Regions from separate parts of the Homo sapiens genome. Here regions 1 and 3 are each linked to region 2. The links are contacts of gene promoters, found by promoter capture Hi-C in human tissues and cell types (Jung and others, 2019). All regions are on one chromosome and are shown on one strand. The core of a region is centred on a gene start or on the middle of the fragment in contact, and the rest is flanking DNA. Distances in the headings are between cores, read along the strand shown.

Region 1 (3,723 bases), core at 849-3,348, 140 kb after region 2:
CATTTATTCCTTCTTTGATGCTCTTCCTTTATGTGGATCCAAGCTTCTGATATATATATATAATATATAAAATATATAATACATAACATATATAATACATATTATATATTACGTTATATATAATTAAAATATATAATATATGCACACATACATAGTGTATATATAATAATATATATACACACATACATACATACACACACACATACATAAAGAACACTTAACATTTCTTACAGGACAGATCTGCTAGTGATAAATTCAATTTTTTTGTTTGAGAAAGTATTTCTCTTTTGTTTCCTCCTTTTTCTTTTGAAGGATAAGTTTGTTGGATATAAAATGTGGTTTGGTTGGTGTGCTTTTTCATTCAACACTTTAAAATATCATTTCACTCTTTTCTTGTTTGTATGGTTTCTGATAAGAAGTCCCCTGGAATTTTCATCCTTGTTCCTCTATAGGTAAGGTGTTTTATTTCCCCTTTTGGCATTTTAAGAGATTTTCTCTTTGTCTTTGATCTTCTGAAGTTTGAATAGGATAGGCCTACACATAGATATTTTGGGATTTATCCTGCTTGGTGTTCTCTAAGCTTCCTGGGTCTGTGGTTTTGTGTCTTTGTCATGAATTTTGGAAAATTCTTGGCCATGACTACTTCAAGTACTTCTTCCGTTTCCTTCTCTTTCTTCTTCAGGTATTCCCAGTACATGCACATTATACCTTTTGAAATTGTCCCAGGGTTCTTGGATGATTTTTTTTTTTTTTTTTTTCTGAGACGGAGTTTTGCTCTTGTTGCCTAGGCTGGAGTGCAATGGTGCGATCTCAGCTCACTGCAACCTCCGCCTCCTGGGTTCAAGCGATTCTCCCACCTCAGCCTCCCTAGTAGCTGGGATAACAGGCGCCCGCCACCACACCCAGCTAATTTTTTGTATTTTTAGTAGAGATGGGGTTTCACTATATTGGCCAGGCTGGTCTCGAACTCCTGACCTCAGGCAATCCACCTGCCTCGGCCTCCTGAAGTGCTGGGATTACAGGTGTGAGCCACTGTGCCCGGCTGGTTCTTGGATGATTTTTTTTTTCTCTCATTGTTTTCTTCTCTTCACACTCCTGTTCGGGAATTTTCTATTGACCAATGTCACGCTTACTGATTCCTTCCATGGATATGTCTGCTCTACTGATAAGCCCATTAAAGGTATGCTTTGCTTCTATTACAGTGCTTTTGAATCCTAGAATTTCCTTTTGATTCTATCTTCAAGTTTCCACCTCCCTGTTTACACTATTCATCTCTTCTTACATGTTGCCTATGTGTTCCATTAGAGCCTTTAACATTAATCATAGTCATTTTTAATAATCTGTATATTACAAAATATGAGTCATATCTGAGTCTGGTTCTGATAGTCGCACTGTCTCTTCAAATAGTGTTTTTTCTTGCCTTTTAGCATGCTTTGTAATTTTTTGTTGAAAGCCAAAAATGATGTATCAGGTAACAGGAACTGAAGAAACAGACTTTTAATGTGGGATTTTATGTTAATCTGGCTGGGAGTTAGGTTCTGTTTAATGTTTTCTGAAGCTGTAGGTGCCAGGGACTTCAAATCCCTCTAGTATTCTTCTATTTTTCTTCCCCATTTTTCTTCTTTGGGTTCCCTGTGAACTCCATCTTAGATGTACCTTGCAGCTCTGTCAGCAGTAACCCCCTATTATATTGTAGACCTCTGCTAAGGTAATGGGGGAGGGAAACATTCTATGATTTTACGGTTAAATCTCAGTCTTTTAGCAGGCCTGTGTCTCCAGGCTGTGATCATCAAAAGTGTTTCTTAGCTATTTCCCCCTCTCCTAGGGAAGACAGGAAGCCTACAGTGGCATGTGCCTGTGGTCCCAACTATTCAGGAGGCTGAGGTGGGAGGATCACCTGAGCCTGGGAGGTCAAGGCTGCAGTGAGCCAAGGCTGTGCCACTGCACTCTAGCCTGGGTGACAGAGTGAGACCCTGTCTCAAAAAATAAACAAACAAACAAAAAAACTAGTACCTACTAACCACAGCTTTCCTGATTGCCAGAGACATTTTGAAAATACTCAAAATTCCACTGAGATAGCATAGACTTTCACAATCTAAGTCTCATATTCAGGTCTAATGTTTTCTTTAAAAGAATGTAGCAGACAATCTGCCACCAAATGCAAAAATCTTCTCTCTGGCACTCTCAATAAACAATGATCATCAAGGTTGGCTTCTGTCCTTAAATGTTAACAGTCAAGGCATAACAAACTTAGGCTTGGAATAACTATCTTCAAATTATTTTGAATTTTAAAAATTCTATTGACAATATTACTCTGACAACTTAAAGACTGGTTTGTGAAACTACGTTCTTAACCTTTTTCCTTCAAGTATTTCAAAATTAAATGTGATGCTTTCAAATCATACCTAGTTTGTACTATAAAAAAAGTACAAACAGTTTCTAATCACTTCTTTTCACTCTAGAACAACTTCAAATTCAGGGTTAAATCAACACACTAACTGGAAAAGGTTCTTTTTGTCTAGCTCCCCCCACCCACCCCACCCCCACAACTTGATAATAAAACTAATCAAGCACCAGGCAGTCCAGCCACTTACCATGTGCTTGGCAAAGCTCCCGCCGGGACCAGTGCTTCGTACCAGATGTCCTTCAGAAGGGAAGTTAAAGTTGCCAGCATTCAGGTTTTCTCGTGTGGAGTGATTACCAAAGAGAACAAATGGCTGCCGGTTAGGGCTAGAGAGGGAAGTCAAAAACATGTGATTAGAAAAGAGTTCCTGGCCAAGGCAACCTTCCATGACCTTAATAAGTCCTCAGGCTTTTCTGAGGGACACTTGCGGCCTGAGCAAAGTGGTCAGTCAGTACAGTCGACCGAATATCCTTGGCTGGTTGGAAACGGATGCCAGCTGTCTCCCTACTGACCCACAGGGATCAGTTAACATTTAGGGACATAACTAAACTCAAGCTAGGTTTGTATTTTCAGCATGTCCCACTTTTTGAGGAATAAGTTCCATAAGCTTGCTGTCCATGATACAGTGATAGAGCAAAACTCCGGTATTATAAAATAGAATTTTAATAGAAATATGAGTCTTAAAGGATGACAGTTATGATACTTGGACTAGACAGACAATAGGGCAGTCACCAATTCCTGAGTAACTTTCAATAGGGAAGGAGCACAGGAGGGTTGCAAATTTTCTCAATACCACACATACCTGGCTCTGTACCCACCCCCTTCCTCCCTGTCCTCTTGGCTGAACTTTTCCTCTCCCCTACTTTCTGCTCACTCCTCAGCCCACTCTAATCAGCCTCCTCAGTCATTTCACCCAGAGAGTTCTTGCCAAAGTCACCAAGTGACTTCCATGTAGCATACAGCAAATCCAACAGATAGTCTTCAGGTCTTCCTTCCTTCCTTGGTCTCTGAGAAGCACTTGACTCCCTCCCACCCTCCACTGCAAGAACTGCAGTGCAAGACTGCACTCCCCTCAGTCTCCCCAGTCAGTCACCCTCCTCTTCCACCTGGTCTCCGAATAGTCCCAGGGTTTACCTGCAGCTTGCTGCTCCCTCCTCTCCTCTGTGATGATGTTCCCTATGTCTGCTCCCCTTCCAGTTCTTGCAGGAAATAAACGGCATCACAATCCACCCAGGTACCCAGCCATCTGAAAGGCCTCCTTGACTTCTGCTTCCTCCGCCTTCAAATCTAATTAACCTTCTCAAAAGCCTTCCTATTTA
Region 2 (3,851 bases), core at 1-2,500:
AAATGACAATGCTGCCTATAAGCCCAGCCCGGCCCATGGCAGGAGGAGCGGCAGCCCGGAAGCCTCACCTCCTCTGCTTAGCGGCCTGCTGCCCACAGCACAAGGCCCCGACTTCTCAGTCTGACTGGCAAGGCCTTTTCCACCAGGCCCACAGCTTGGTCCCAGGCGGGGGCTCAGCCCTTCCCTCGGGCCTGTGTGAATACTCCTCTCCCCTCCCGGCTCCACCTTTCCAGCTGGCCTGTCAGGAGGCCCCTATCCTGATGTCCCCAGCTCTCATCGAGTACCCCCTGCAGGAATCCACTGATTTCTCGCCTAACACCACCTGTGGTTTTATCTGGCTCCCCAGCCAGAGAGTACACTTCCCGGCGGTGGCCGAGCCTCCCCCGGGAAGACCTGCTGGATCTCCGCCTTCCCTCAGCGTGTCCCTTCCGCTCCTGGGAGCGCGCAGGTGCTCAGAGGTAGCTTGTGGGCCCAGGGAGCAGGAAAACACATATACAAACCCGCCCGCTGACCAGAAATGGGGGGAAAGAGGGAGGATGGGTGTATCTGTTCTGTGCCCTGGCCAATGACATGGCCTTCTGATCGGGGAGCGGATTGGGGAGGGAGAGTGGGCCCTCTCCTTGGCGGGAAGGGAGAGAGCTTCAGGAATTTCCTGGAGCCGCCTCGCGCTTCTCCAGCTCGTGGGGGACAGGCAGAAAATATTCAGATGCCCCCTTCCTGGCACCTGCTCTGGAGCCAGGCTGGGAGGAATGGAAAACCCCTGCGGCCTCCCTAACAGGTGCAGAGGGAAAGGGCCCCGACGGTGACGGATGGGAGTGTGCGCCGGCCAGGGCCTCAGGCCTTTGGAGGTATGGAGTTCCCGGGGGTGAAGAGAGGGATGAGGCCAGACTCTGGCTTGGAGTCGAGAGAAAGGGGTAGCGGCGCGGCCACCGATTCCAGGTAGGGCACTGCGGAAGCCCCACCCGGCACACGACTAGCGCACGGACGCGCATGCGTCCCGCCCGCCCAGGTGCGCACGCGCAGGAGCCGCGGCGCGACGGTCCACAAAGGCTCAGAAGGCCAGAAAACCCGGTACCACCAACCCTGGTGCAGCGGCATCTCCTACCTGATGCCGCCCGGCCCCGGCTGCGAGTCAGGAAGAGGATAAAGCCGACTAGCAGAGCCGCCGCTACCAAGTACCACACAGGCGCCACCATGACGAGGGCCTCAGTGCAGAACCACTGCGTCCACCCTGAGGCCGGGATCTCATAGGCCCCGCCCCTATTTCCCAATCTAGACTCCGCCCACTACTCGGAGCCCCGCCCAGCGGCACATCACAGAGAGGCTTTAATGTCAGACATTAAAATGAGTTTGGGGGGTGTAAAGAAACCCACAATGTTAAGAGGAAATTATAGCAGACGGTATGTCCAGTAGAAAACATCTATGTATGTTTTTTTTTTTTGAGACGGAGTCTCTGTCGCACAGGCTGGAGTGCGGTGGTGCGATCTCGGCTCACTGCAACCTCCACCTCCCAGGTTCAAGCGATTCTCCTGCCTCAGACTCCCGAGTAGCTGGGATTACAGGCGCCCGCCACCACGCCCGGCTAATTTTTGTATTTTTAGTAGAGATGGGGGTTTCACCGTGTTGGCCAGGCTGGTCTCGAACTCCTGACCTTGTGATCCACCCACCTTGGCCTCCCAAAGTGCTGGGATTACAGGCGTGAGCCACCGCGCCCGGACTATATATGTTTTAAAAATCACTAAACAATCCCACATAGTGTTTATGGAAACAACCGTGGAAAAAGTACGAAAAGAGGCTTGGGACTGATGCACACCAACTTCAGGATAGCGATTACCTCTAGGAGGAGGGAAGCGGGTTGGGGTTTTGCTGTATCTGTGACACTGAATTTCTTTCTTTCTTTCTTTCTTTTGAGGGGAAGGGGAGGGGAGGGGAGGGCAGTACTGGAATTTATTAAGCTTTTTGTATACATGATAACAGAAGTAAAGATTTATTTCAGGAGCCAGGCACAGAGGCTCGTCTGTTAACCCAATACTTTGGGAAGTCTAGGTAGAGGTGAGCCTAGGAGTTCAAGACCAGCCTGGGCAACATGATGAAACCCTGTCTCTACAAAATACAAAAATTAGCCAGGTGTGGTGGCATGCACCTGTGATTCCAGGTACTTGGGAAGATGAGGTGGGAAGATCACCTGAGCCCAGGGAGGTCGAGGCTGCAGTGAGCCATGATCATGCCAGTGCACTCCAGCCTGGGTGATAGAGTGAGACCCTGTCTCAGAAAATAAAAATAAATAAAAATAAATTCAGGACCAATGAACAATGGTGAGAAAGGGATTTGAAAAAATACGGGCCAGATGAGGTGGCTCTCCCCTGTAATCCTAGCACTTTGGGAGGCCGAGGTGGGCGGATCACTTCAGGTCAAGTGTTCAAAACCAGCCTAGCTGACGTGATGAAATCCTGTCTCTACTAAAAATACAAACAATGAGTGGGGCGTGGTGGCACATGCCTGTAATCCCAGCTACTCGGGAGGCTGAGGCAGGAGAATCACTTGAACCCAGGGGGCGGACGTTGCAGTGAGCCAAGATTGCACCACTGCACACCAGCCTGAGCGACAGAGCAAGACTCTGTCTCAAAAAAAAAAAAAAAAGAAAGAAAGAAAGAAAAAGAAAAAGAAAAAATATGGGCTGGGCGAGGTGGCTCACACCTGTAATCCCAGCACTTTGGGAGGCTGAGGTGGGTGGATCACCTGAACTCAGGAGTTTGAGACCAGCCTGACAAACACAGTGAAACCCTGTCTCTACTAAAAATACAAAATTAGCTTGGCGTGGTGGTGGGTGCCTGTAATCCCAGCTACTTGGGAGGCTGAGGCAGGAGAATCTCTCGAAGCCGGGAGGCAGAGGTTGCAGTGAGCCGAGATCACACTATTGCACTCCAGCCTGGGCAACAGAGTGAGACTCAGTCTCAAAAAAAAAAAAAAAAAAAAAAAAGCTGGGCACCGTGGCTCACGCCTACAATCCCAACCAACACTTTGGGAGGTCGAGGTGGGTGGATCACCTGAGGTCGGGAATTTGAGACCAGCCTGACCAACATGGAGAAACCCCATCTCTACTAAAAATACAAAATTAGCCGGGTGTGGTGGCTCATGCCCATAATCCCAGCACTTCGGGAGGCTGAGGCAGGCGGATCACGAGGTCAGGAGATCAAAACCATCCTGGCTAACACGGTGAAACCCCGTCTCTACTAAAAATACAAAAAAATTAGCCAGGCGTGGTGGTGGGCGCCTGTAGTCCCAGCTACTTGGGAGGCTGAGGCAGGAGAATGGTGGGGACCCGGGAGGCGGAGCTTGCAGTGAGCTGAGATCGCGCCACTGCACTCCAGCCTGGGCGACAGAGTGAGACTGTCTCAAAAAAAAAAAAAAAAGAAGAAGAAAGATACAAAAATTAACCAGGCATGGTGGTGCATGCCTGGAGTCCCAGCTACTCAGGAGGCTGAGGTGGGAGAACTGCTCGAACCCAATATGCAGAGGTTGCAGTGAGCCGGGACCACACCACTGTACTTCAGCCTGGGCAACAGAGCAAGACTCCATCTCAAAAAAAATAAATAAATAAAAGAATGAAAAAGAAAGTTATCTATGGACTTGTAATTATAGATGTCAGTTGTGATCTTTTTGTTTGTTGGTTTTTTGAGACAGGGTCTCACTCACATCACCCAGGCTAGAGTACAGTGGCACTCTTGGCTCACTGCAGCCTCGACTTCCCAGGCTCAGGTGATCCTCCCACCTCAGCCTCCTAAACAGCTGTGACTACAGGTGTGTGCCCCCAAGCCCAACTAATTTTTTGTATTTTTTGTAGAGACTGG
Region 3 (3,915 bases), core at 1,276-3,775, 170 kb after region 2:
CAATACGGTTGTTTCACTTTCTTATAATTTGTGTTCAGTGAAGTAGTGCTTTTAGTTTCCTTCAAGAACTTTTCCTTTGCATTCACAACTTAGCTGTTTGGTGCAAGAGGTCTAGCTTTCAGCCTGTCTTGGCTTTCAACATGCCTCCTTCACCAAGCTTAACCATTTCCAGCTTTTGATTTAAAATGAGAGAATTGTGACTCTTCCTTTCACTTGAACCTTTATTGGCCATTGTAGGGTTATTAATTGGCCTAATTTCAATATTGTTATGGTCAATGAATAGGGAAGTCAGGATAAAGCAAAAAACGAGGGAACAGCCAGTCAGTGAAGCAGTCAGAACACACACATCATTTAAGTTCATCATCTCATATGAGTGCAGTTTGTGATGCCCCAAAACAATTCTGATGGTAACATCAGAGATCACTCATCATGGATTATCATAACAGATATAATAAAAATGAAAAAGCTTGAAATATTATGAGAATTACCAAAATGCGACACAGAGACACAAAGTGAACACGTGCTGTTGGAAAATTGGAGCCAACAGGCTTGCTGGATGCAGGCTGCCACAAACCATCAATTTGTTTAAAAAAAAAAAAAAGCAATATCTACAAAGTGCAGCAAACCAAAGCACAATAAATTAAGATAGGCCTGTATGTGTTTTGCCAGTCTAACTGGTGAAAACAGGCACTGTTCTCAGCCCAGAACACACATCAGGCACTATCCTCGAATCCTTTCAGATAGGTTTCTCTTGACCTTGAGTAGTTACCACACACATGACTGCACTGATCAGTATTCTGCTGAGTACCGACTGGGGCAAGGGGAATCTTTGGACGGTTCTTTCCTCTTTAGTACTCTAACTGCTTTGGTCCCCGCAGACTCCCAGCTGCATCTCCTAACTCAGGGAGTGCGCTGGGCACCACCTGGATCCTCTCTTCTCTATGCTGTGTCTGGAAACTTTCTCAAAGTGATAAGCTAGTACCATCAAGGGGCTCACATTGATTGTTTCCGTCTCTCAGGGAATCAGGATTCCTCACTGCCTGATGCCTAGTTTGTGTTTTTGTTTTGGGGGGCTTTTGTTGGTTTGGGAACCAGTTTTTGTTGTTTTGTGGTGGGTGACTTGTTTTTTCTTCCTGGAAGCCTTTTTTTTTCTTTTTTGGCCAAACTTACTGACCAACTTCCTGGAAGCTTTTTTTTTTTTTTTGAGACAGAGTCTTGCTCTTTCGCCCAGGCTGGAGTGCAGTGGCATGATCTCAGCTCACTGAAAGCTCCGCCACCCAGGTTCACGCCATTCTCCTGCCTCAGCCTCCCGAGTAGCTGGGACTACAGGTGCCCGCCACCAAGCCCGGCTAATTTTTGTATTTTTTTTTTTAAGTAGAGACAGGGTTTCACCGTGTTAGCCAGGATGGTCTCGATCTCCTGACCTCGTGATCCCTCCGCCTCGGCCTCCCAAAGTGCTGGGATTACAGGCATGAGCCACTGCGCCCGGCCATCCTGGAAGCTTTTAAAGATATTCTTTCATCCAGGCTGGGTGCAGGTGGCTCACGCCTGTAATCCCAGCTTTCAGAAGCCGAGAAGGCAGATCACCTGAGGTCAGGAGTTTGGGACCACCCTGGCCAACAAGGTGAACCCCATTTCTCTAAAAATACAAAATTAGCCAGGCATGGTGGAGCATGCCTGTAATCCCAGCTTCTCGGGAGGTTGTGGCAGGAGAATCGTTTGCACCTGGGAGGCAGAGGTCGCAGTGAGCCAAGATCGTGCCATTGCACTCCAGCCTGGGCAAGGAGAGTAAAACTCTGTCTCAAAAAAAAAAAAAAGGATATTCTTTTATCCTTAGTGTCTGAAATGTCACGGACAGATTTAAGGGTTTTTTTTCCTCTTCCCATTCATACTTAAGTGATTTAATTTAAAACCTTTTATTTCTCTTTATGATTGGGAATGTTTATGTTTTAAAAAGATTTCTTCCCTTATGGTATCGTGGCCTCCTCTTTCCAGAAATTCTACTCATTGGATATTAGACTTCTTAGATCAGTCTTCTAACATTTAAAGTTAACTTTTTTTTTTTTTTCAGATGGAGTCTCGCTCTTTCGCCCAGGCTGGAGTGTAGTGGTGCGATCTCAGCTCACTGCAACCCCCACTTCCTGGGTTTAAGCAATTCTCCTGCCTCAGCCTCCCAGGTAGCTGGGACTACAGGCGTGTGCCACCACACCCGGCTACTTTTCTATTTTTAGTAGAGACGGGGGTCTCGCTGTGTTGACCGAGCTGGTCTTGAACTCCTGACCTCAAGTGATCTGCCTGCCTCAGCCTCCCAAAGTGCTGGGATTACAGGTGTGAGCCACCAAGCCCGGCCTAAAGTTAACTTTAAAGGTTAAAGTCTTTTAACTTTTTTATCAATATTTTCTATCTCCGTGATGTTTTTATTTTACCTTTCTAAGGAGTTTCCTAACTTTACCTTCCACCCCTCTATTGATTTTATCAATTATGATTTCCTAGAGCTCGTATTTTCCATACATTCAGTTATTACAACATTCACTTGTCCTATGGTTGACAAATCTTACATTTTTCTGGGCATCCAAAAAGAGTTTTATGTCAAGTTTTCTTCTATACCTTAAATTATCTTTGGGTCTTAATGAACTGGTCTTCTTTTAAAAAAAAAAATTGATCTTTTTCTTTTGAGTTACTGCTGTTTAATCAAATGTCTGGTGATCTTTGGCTTCCTATTCATACTTTGAAATGAGGCAATGAAAAGGCTAACTGGAAGGTGTATATTCCTGATAACTGTTATGCAGAGCTTCTATTACTGGGTCTCCATCCCCTTATATTCTACATGCCAAAATGTGAACAGGTTTACTCTCAGGAAGCAAAAACTACACTAGCCAATGAAATCTCTTGGTTTTGTCTTGCCTTTCAGTTTATTTATTTCATTTTTATTTATTTATTTTGAGACAGTGTCTCACTCTGTTGCTCAGGCTGGAGTGCAGTGGTTCAATCAGCCCACTGCAGCCTGGAGCTCCAGGGCTCAAGCTATCCTCCGGCCTCAGCCTCCCAAGTAGGTGGGACTGTAGGTACATGCCACTGTGCCTCGCTAATTTTTTTTTTTTTGAGATGGAGTCTCACACTGTCGTCCAGCTGGAGTGCAGTGGCATGATCTTGGCTCACTGCAGCCTCCACCTCCCAGGTTCAAGTGATTCTCCTGCCTCAGCCTCCTGAGTAGCTGGGATGACAGGTGCCTGCCACCATGCCCAGCTAATTTTTGTATTTTTAGTAGAGACGGGGTTTCACCATGTTGGCCAGGACGGTCCCGATCTCTTGACCTCATGATCCACCCGCCTCAGCCTCCTAAAGTGCTCAGATTACAGGCTTGAGCCACCGCGCCCAGCCGTGCCCGACTAATTTTTTTAAAATTTTTTTGTTGCCAGGCTGGTCTTGAACTCCTGGCTTCACGCGATCCTCCCGCCTTGGCCTCCCAAAGTGCTAGGCTTGATTACAAGTGTGAGCCACTCACCAGGCCCTTTTCAGTTTTTTTACAAAACCTCCACCCAAATCTCTTCTTTGTTTTTCCTAGGGTGGAGGTGGCATCTGCAAATGCCTGGTTGACTGTCACTTGAGGGGAGAGGAGAGCGGTAGAGGGAGGTACAGACTATTACATAACAACCTTTAATTTAATTCTTTCCTTTCAATATCACCAATTTCCATTCTCTATTCTCCACTTCATCATCTTCCTTCCCATTGCTTTAATCTACTTGGCCCCTTCCTCTGTATTCTGGAAAAGCTTTTCAAGTGTGTCAACTGATTAGATTTTTTATATCTTTTTTTAATGTAAGTTTTCATTCTACTAATAAATTTTGAGACTTCCTACAATCTTTTCTTATATGTCTTCCATCTCCCTTTTTAATTTTGATTGCTCACCTCATT

Evidence for each region. Contacts are between HindIII fragments. The study calls those that stand out against the background at their distance.
Region 1: a contact is called between a fragment that was not itself captured here and the fragment with the promoter of DDRGK1 in region 2, in 1 of the 25 tissues and cell types used here (mesendoderm cells).
Region 3: a fragment that was not itself captured here is called in contact with the fragment with the promoter of DDRGK1 in region 2 in 1 of the 25 tissues and cell types used here (IMR-90 fibroblasts).

The regions. Positions count from the first base shown.
Region 1 is chr20:3,337,910-3,341,632 of GRCh38, forward strand. It overlaps DNAAF9 (dynein axonemal assembly factor 9), which reads right to left. Exons shown (of 37, transcript NM_001009984.3): 10 at 2,595-2,730. Among named protein-coding and RNA genes, the nearest start is that of DNAAF9, 68 kb to the right of the region's middle. The HindIII fragment of the contact is 3,575 bases long and covers 312-3,723 here.
Region 2 is chr20:3,203,432-3,207,282 of GRCh38, forward strand. It overlaps DDRGK1 (DDRGK domain containing 1), which reads right to left and starts at 1,251. Exons shown (of 9, transcript NM_023935.3): 1 at 1,106-1,251. The coding sequence starts at 1,196. It also overlaps a transcript of ITPA not described here. RefSeq lists an enhancer at 943-1,162. The HindIII fragment of the contact is 17,154 bases long and covers 1-3,851 here.
Region 3 is chr20:3,367,327-3,371,241 of GRCh38, forward strand. All of the region lies in intron 6 of DNAAF9 (dynein axonemal assembly factor 9), which reads right to left. Among named protein-coding and RNA genes, the nearest start is that of DNAAF9, 38 kb to the right of the region's middle. The HindIII fragment of the contact is 4,428 bases long and covers 312-3,915 here.